3 separate regions of the Homo sapiens genome follow, and all the other regions are linked to region 2. Evidence: promoter capture Hi-C in 16 types of primary human blood cells and fetal thymus (Javierre and others, 2016). All regions are on one chromosome and are shown on one strand. The core of a region is centred on a gene start or on the middle of the fragment in contact, and the rest is flanking DNA. Distances in the headings are between cores, read along the strand shown. Region 1 overlaps MMP20 (matrix metallopeptidase 20). Region 2 holds the start of MMP7 (matrix metallopeptidase 7). Region 3 overlaps TMEM123 (transmembrane protein 123).

Region 1 (2,700 bases), core at 121-2,620, 66 kb after region 2:
TTCATCTATCCATTTACCCAATATTATAGTCATAAAATTGTGGCAGTATACCCATGAGGGTACTGGATTGAAACTGACAATGTAATGTGCTCTATTTTATAGTTTGAAGATGAAAATCATTTTTTATAAAACACGAATAATTTACTTGTCTTCTTAGGAGCCCAGAATTACTTCACAGGATTATTTGGGGACTGGGAAACTGTAATAAAATTTTGACATTGAACTTTCCTAGTGGCTAATTTAGGAATTCTCCAAATTTTATGTAGAGTTTTCCTATTCAGTTAATCTAACAAATATTTATGGAGCACCTATCATCAGGCACTGTGGTGGACATCAAGGATGAAACACTGAAGAAGATGTCGGCCCTGCCCTCAATATGTTTACAATCTAATAGTAGAGACTGATTAGTAACGATCAGAGTGATTGGTGCTACGAAGAGTTAAGTTCAGGATACTTTGAGAACACACAAGAAGTATATCCCATTGCATTTAGGGGCTTAATAAAGGTATCCCTAATGAGGCAACTTAAGCTGATGATAAAATCCAAAAAAGGAATGTATTGGGAAAAGATAAATATTTCCTCATGTTTCGTAAGAGGCATCATGGTGCAGAAGGAAAAACACATTGTGTTTGAGAAGATGTGGGCTAGAGTTTTAACTCCACTGCTGACCAGCCTCTCCAAGCCTCAGTTTAATCAGCTTACATGGGAAAAATAATTTCCTGGCCAATATCATGAGACCATTATAAGGATAAAATGAGATAATGAATATGAAAGTGTATTATAAACTGTAAGGTGCCATATGGATAGATACTGTTAGTTTGAAAAGGTATTATTTGCTTAGGCCTTAATTACCTGGTAATTGGGCACCCTCCATAGACAATACACAAGCCCCAAACATCACAGCCTTATCTAAAGCGTATGTTTTAACTGATGAAAAACTGAGATCCAGAAGGGCTGCTGGCCCAAAGGTCACTGGTGGTGAGGGGCAGAGACGGCCCAGCTCAGGCTCTAGCTGCCTTGAGGTTAGTCACATGTCCGATCTCACCTACTTGCTCATGCTCAGTCTCGTGACCTCTGGTTTTTTCTTTGTTTGTACTTTGACCCTTTGTCCAATCAGACCTGGGCTTTTCTGAAGGCCAGAGGGACTGCTTCCCTTTTCCCTTTTCTCTCCACCACCTCGTAATGAATACAGTTTTGGGTATCCAGAATCCCGCAACTACTTCTTGGATTAATTGGGAACCTGGGATGAAACCTGAAGAGCAAGTGTGTTCCAATTAATGCAATTCAATACATAGCTCTGAAATGTTTTCTCTTATAAGTTGCTGTGCTAAGACACAAAGTGTGCATTTAAGAATATTATAATGATGAGGCCATGTGGGGAAAGTGGGGAGGTAGAGGAGCAGATATGTCTTCCCAAAACTAGGCTCTGTCTGAATGATGTCTCTGATGAGGTGTAGTAGACTTCCAGCTGCTTTCTCTTTGATCACTCTAAAGCCAGATGCATTTTCTTGCATTTCTCACTTAAAAATCAACAAGCAACTCTAGGCAAAGCTAAGTCCTACTTTTTAGTTGAAGTTTTGGGACAGTGATATCTTGAATGACTCAACATGAGAAGTAGTAAAGGGTAGTAGTTACGAGCTCAGGCAAAGGAAAACTGTACTCTTGAAACTTTTCACAAGTGGTAGACTCTCAAATTCCTTACTAAGGAAATATTGATGTAGGATATCGTGAGGACTAAATTGAAGTAGTCATTGTAAATCAAGTGTGATTTTGCACCCTGGGGGACGTTAGGCAATATCTGGTGACAATTTTGGTTGTCACAGGTGGGGATGAGCAGTGCTATTGGAGTCTAATGAGTACAGCCAGGGATGCCACTAAACATCCTAATGCAAAAGACAGCTCAACACAACTAAGACTTATCTGGCTCAAGATACCAGTAGTGTCAATGTTAAGAAACCCTGCTTTAAACACCACTATGATGTAGTGTAATGTATATAATGTGCACATAGGATAGAAATAAATGCTATCCATCACTTATATAAATTATGACAAATTTCTTTTCTTTTCTTTTTTTTGAGATGGAGTTTCACTCTTGTTGCCCAGGCTGGAGTGCAATGGCGTGATCTAAGTTCATGGCAACTTCCGCCTCCTGGGTTCAAGCAATTCTCCTGCCTCAGCCTCCCGAGTAGCTGGGATTACAGGCATGTGACACCACTCCCGGCTAATTTTGTATTTTTAGTAGAGGTGGGGTTTCTCCATGTTGGTCAGGCTGGTCTCGAACTCCCGACCTCAGGTGATCTGCCTGCCTCCACCTCCCAAAGTGCTGAGATTACAGGCGTAGACACCATGCCTGGCCAAATTATCACAAATTTCAAAAAGAATCTGTAGTCATGAAAAATTTCAGTAAACTAATGAAAAAAATGATGTCTTGTGGCAATAAAACAGTAACATACTCAGACAATTTGCATCCTTAGACCTATAGATTGTAGTAATAAGTGAAGTAAAACTCACAAAAACAATGATAGCAAGTAACTTCCTTATACATCTGTGAATGGATTTAAAATATAAACAAAAAAATCTATAAGCCTCTTGGAAAAGAACAGCTGCAGGATGTATTGGAATGAAAATAAACAGATTATATCACTAGTCTATAATTTGATCTTTGATAAGGAAGGCAAAACAATGGAGTTTATTGATATT
Region 2 (2,700 bases), core at 178-2,677:
ATTTAATCCCTTCTAGAGCTACAGACTTTACCAAGACACCCTCTGGAAGAAATCTCTCTGCTTTGTTGAGATGACTTTTCCTGTTTTTTTGTTAAACCTAGCTAACATCCCTCCAAGTGAAGACTAAGTTTCTGCCAACCTTCACTCTAAGTAAAGAAACTAAACGCAGAGTACTCTTTCTGGAGAATTCATTAGGTGGAACCATATAAAACTACTGTTTTGGAGATTTTAAAAGTTAAATACTAGTAACTTTATGTGGTTCAATCTAACTTATTATAACTGGAACTTTTTAAAAGTCTAAGTTAATGTGAATTAAAAATTGACTTTTCTTATGCTTAAGGCCTAAATTTACAAATAATAGTTATAAGTAATCATCCCATTAGTTAACCAAATAATAATTAGTAGACTGCTTATATTTATTAGACTGCTTATTAAGAAGCATATTGCAAGGAACATGATTTTTGAACCAGAAGCACTTGTCCTTGATTTCTATCTCTACCACTAATAAGTACACTAATCAGTTTAACTTTGGTTTCCTCTTTTTATAGAACTAAGGATTAAATGACACAATGTCTATATAAGTACTTTATAATCTACAATTGTTACATACATGCTAGTTGGTTTTGTTATCACCTCATTTACTTACTAGAATACCCCATGAGGTATAAAACACATAATATTATTTTTTCTACTGGACACATGAGAAAACAAAGTCAGATGTTAATGCCTTGTCTATTGTCATTGACTTGTTGGAGAGTTGTAATTTCTACCCATGTTTTCTGACTTCAGATATCTCCATTACAAACAGTATTGTAAATACACAAACAGTATATTTACAGGTTGTATCTTAAGAGGCAATATTCTGTATACTATAGAAAAAGAATCTCAAGTTATAATAAATAAAAATAAGAACTTAATTTAAACAATGTTTCAGGTATTGTGTTGAATGCTTCACAACACCCTCATTTGGTTGATACCATTCTTATCTCCAACTTCCAAATTGGAAACCTGAAGCTTAGAGAAGTTTGATGACCTTCCTGAGTCTATCTACATAGTGAGTGGAGGGTTGGAACTCAAGCCCGATTTGAGCAGATTCTGAAACCTGCTTTTAATGGCTACTTGATGAAAACATATATTGCTTTTATAATCCGAAGAACCACCCCAAAGAAAATTCCACTGCAATGCTAACATGGGAAGGGAAATAATTGAAAAACACATTTCTTAATGCAGATGGCAAAAGAATGGAACCCTAAGTAAGTGGGCTGTGACATACCTGAGCCTGTTCCCACTGTAGCTCACTCATGCCTCCCGCCTCCTGAGGCAGCGGCAGGGCCAGGCTGCCAGGCAGCAGGCACACAGCACACAGCACGGTGAGTCGCATAGCTGCCGTCCAGAGACAATTGTTCTTGGACCTATGGTTGATTTGGTGTTTTCTGCTAGTGACTGCAGAAATTTATATAGCTTCTCAGCCTCGAATGTGGAAATAGGTGACTCATTTGAGTGTTTTCTTTCTTTTTAGAGTCTACAGAACTTTGAAAGTATGTGTTATTTTTCATTAACTAAAACGAGGAAGTATTACATCGTTATTGGCAGGAAGCACACAATGTATTTGTCTTTCAAAGGATTTTTTTTTCTGTCTGCTGCATAAATTGACTCCATGAGAAACCTCATTTTTTTGCCAAAGTCAAATGACTGCTCTCATAGGTATCATTCAGGACATTATGGTACCATATATTCTTAAAGAATAATATATATTCTTAAATATATATTCTTATTATATGGTACCATGTATTCTTAAATACATGGTACCATATATTCTTAACAATTAAAAGGTTTGGAAAAGTGCACAAAACATGTAAATAATGAAATAATAATTAAGCAAATACTGTAACCGTCACCAAAGTCAAGAAATAGAACATCACCAAAATCCTGTGGTTCTCCATACAGGGGAAAGATGGCAGGAGGCAGATGGAAATGCTGCTGTGTGGCTGGATTAGTGGCCACTCTATATACAACTGTGCTGTGTCCCCTCACCTTCCACGTCCCTTAGCAGAGCAGTGATAATTCCCTTCTTTGGGTCTCCTTTTAATCAGTTTATGTCTTTTCTTAATGGGGAACACTGCCTCTAATTCTTCTTGAATTAAACACAAAAAAATACCAAGCCAACAAAAATCTACAAGCACGGGTTTAACTCTTCATCTGGCTTACTTATTCTGCTTCTCATTTTATAGTAACAGATTCTTCCAAGGCTAGACCTTCAACTTGGAGATCCAATTTTTTTCTTCCAATCACTCTGACTCTGGCTGCTGCCCAGCTACAGGTAGGGCTGCATTGGTCCTTAGTACACAAAATGGTTATTCTACGTATAGCAGTAAGAATCCATTACCTACAGATTCTAGCCCAATGACTCCATTCTTACCAAAAATGAAAGTGAGGCCAAGATGATAATTTAACTTATTATACTTCTCCCAGCTCACACAGATAGTAGCTCAGTGCTTTTTCTATCCCACTGCACTGCCTATTCATTTTGTAATAGGTCTGTCTCTTTTATTATATTATACATTACTTGGGAGAACACCATGGCTTTTGACTCTAATACATCATGGGAAACACTCCAAATATGCTGGAGCTAAAAAATTTAATTAATCACATATCACTTCAATTACATGGTAATTGAGCACTGTGAGCCAGCAAAGGTAA
Region 3 (2,700 bases), core at 61-2,560, 98 kb before region 2:
CGCTAAATAAATATAGGCATTACCTCACATACTTATCTTTGTAAACTGACAAATTACAGCTGTATAAATTTATAGGTATAAAGTGATGTTATGATTTATGAATACATGTAGAATAATTTAATCATGCTAATTAACATATCCATCACCTCAAATACTTATTTTTGTGGTGAGAACATTGAAATTTTACTCAGCGATTTTGGAAGGTACCATACACGATAAACTATATTCACTATGCTGTGCAATAGAACTAGAAAAAAGAAAGTTTTCCTCTTCTCTGAGGCTCTGTATCCTTTAACCATCATCTCCCCTTTTTCCCCACCCTGCAGCTTCTGGGAACCACCATTCTACTCTCTGCAGTTCCATCCATGTTGTCTCAAATGACAGAATTTGCACATTTGCTTTTTTAAAGCTGAATAGTATTCCATTGTGTGTATATGTATCACATGTGCTTTATCCATTCATCTGCTGATAAACAGTTAGGTTGATTCTACAACTTGGTGATATGGGCTGGCTGTGTCCCCACCCAAATCTCATCTTGAATTGTAATCCCCATGTGTCATGGCAGTGACCCGGTGGTAGGTAACTGAATCATGGGGGCAGTTTCCCCCATGCTGTTCCCATGATAGTGAGTGAGTTCTCAGGAGATCTGATGGTTTTTTAAGCGTCTGGCATCTCCCTGCTGGCACTTTCTCTCTCCTGCCACCCTGTGAAGAGGCGCCTTCTGCCATGATTGTGAGTTTCCTGAAGCCTTCCCTAGCCATGTGGAACTGAGTCAATTAAACCTCTTTTCTTTATAAATTAATCCATCTTGGGTATTTCTTCAAAGCAGTGTAAGAACAGATTAATCTAGTACATTGGTACTGGGAGTGGGGTGCTACTCTAAGGATAGCTGAAAATGTGGAAGCGACTTTGGCACTGGTTAACAGGCAGAGGTTTAAACAGTTTGGAGGACTTAGAAGAAGACAGGGAAATGTGGGAAAGTTTGGAACTTCCTAGAGACTTGGAGGGCTCAGAAGACAAAAAGATGTGGGAAAGTTTGGAACTTCCTAGAGACTTGTTGAACGGCTTTGACCAAAATGCTGATAGTGATATGGACAATGAAGTCCAGGCTGAGGTGGTCTCAGATGCAGATTTGAGGAACCTGTTGAGAACTGGAGTAAAGGTCACTCTTGCTATGCTTTAGCAAAGAGATTGGTGGCATTTTGCCCCTGCCCTAGAGATCTGTGGAACTAGAACTCGAGAGACACGATTTAGGGTACCTGGCAGAAGAAATTTCTAAGCAGCAAAGCATTCAAGAGGTAGCAGAGCGTAAGAGTTTGGAAAATATGTAGCCTGATGATGTGACAGAAAAGAAAACCCATTCTCTGAGGAGAAATTCAAGCCGGCTGCAGGAATTTGCATAAGTAACAAGGAGCCAAATGTTAACCACCAAAAGACAATGGGGAAAATGTCTCCAGGGCATGTCAGATACCTTCACAGCAGCCCCTCCCATCACAGGCCTGGAGGCCTAGGAGGGAAAAATGGTTTCCTGGGCCAGGCCCAGGGGCCCCCTGCTCTATGCAGCCTGGGGACATAGTGCCCTGCGTCTCAGCTGCTTCAGCTCCAGCCATGGCTAAAAGGGGTCAAAGTACAGCTCAGGCCATTGCTTCAGAGGGTGCAAGCCCCAGGCCTTGGTGGTTTCCATGTAGTGTTGAGCCTGTGGGTGCACAGAAGTCAAGAATTGAGGTTTGGGAACCTCTGACTGGATTTCAGAGAATGTATGGAAATGCCTGGAAGTCCAGGCAGAAGTTTGCTGCAGGTGTGGAGGCCTCATGGAGAAACTCTGCTAGGGCAGTGCAGAAGGGAAATGTGGGGCTGGAGCCCTCACACAGGGTCCCCACTGGGGCACTGCCTAGTGGAGCTGTGAGAAGAGGGCCACTGTCCTCCAGCCCCCAGAATGGTAGACCCATCAACAGCTTGCACTGTGTCTGGAAAAGCCACAGACACTCAACGCCAGCTAGTGACAGCATCTGGGAAGGGGGCTGTACTCTGCAAAGCCACAGGGGTGGAGCTGCTCAAGGACATGGGAGCCCACCTCTTGCATCAGCACGATCTGGATATGAGACAGAGTCATAGGAAATCATTTTGGAACTTTAAGGTTTAATGACTGCCCTACTGGATTTCAGACTTGCATGGGGCCTGCAGCTCCTTTGTTCTGGCCAATTTATCCCATTTGGAACAGGTGTATTTACCCAATGCCTGTACTCACATTGTATCTAGGAAGTAACTAACTTGCTTTTGATTTTACAGGCTCATAGGTGGAAGGGACTTGCCTTATCTCAGTTGAGATTTTGGACTTTTGGGTTAATGCTGGAATGAGTTAAGACTTTGGAAGACTGTTGGGAAGGCATCAAGTCTGAGGGCATGAGATTTGGGAGGGGCCAGTGGTAAAATTATATGGTTTGGCTATGTCCCCACTCAAATTTCATCTTGAATTGTAATCTCCATAATCCCCAAGTGTCATGGCAGCGAGCTGGTGGGAGGTAACTGAATCATAGGGGTGGTTTCCCCTACGCTGTTCTCGTGACAGTTTTTCATGAGATCTGATGGTTTTATAAGTGTCTGGCATTTCCCCTGCTGGCACTCATTCTCTCTCCTGCCACCCTATGAAGAGGTGCCTTCTGCCATGATTATAAGTTTCCTGAGGCCTCCCTAGCCATG

The links. Contacts are between HindIII fragments. The CHiCAGO score rates a contact against its expected background, and 5 or more counts as called.
Region 1: a fragment that was not itself captured here is called in contact with the fragment with the promoter of MMP7 in region 2 in 8 of 17 cell types (M0 macrophages, M1 macrophages, naive B cells and 5 more); the score reaches 13.7 in M0 macrophages.
Region 3: a fragment that was not itself captured here is called in contact with the fragment with the promoter of MMP7 in region 2 in 2 of 17 cell types (M1 macrophages and total B cells); the score reaches 5.7 in M1 macrophages.

The regions. Positions count from the first base shown.
Region 1 is chr11:102,595,710-102,598,409 of GRCh38, forward strand. The region is part of intron 6 of MMP20 (matrix metallopeptidase 20); the gene reads right to left. Among named protein-coding and RNA genes, the nearest start is that of MMP20, 28 kb to the right of the region's middle. The HindIII fragment of the contact is 6,692 bases long and covers 1-2,700 here.
Region 2 is chr11:102,529,320-102,532,019 of GRCh38, forward strand. It overlaps MMP7 (matrix metallopeptidase 7), which reads right to left and starts at 1,428. Exons shown (of 6, transcript NM_002423.5): 1 at 1,274-1,428. The coding sequence starts at 1,381. The HindIII fragment of the contact is 6,591 bases long and covers 1,013-2,700 here.
Region 3 is chr11:102,431,233-102,433,932 of GRCh38, forward strand. The region is part of intron 2 of TMEM123 (transmembrane protein 123); the gene reads right to left. Among named protein-coding and RNA genes, the nearest start is that of TMEM123, 20 kb to the right of the region's middle. The HindIII fragment of the contact is 4,066 bases long and covers 1-2,700 here.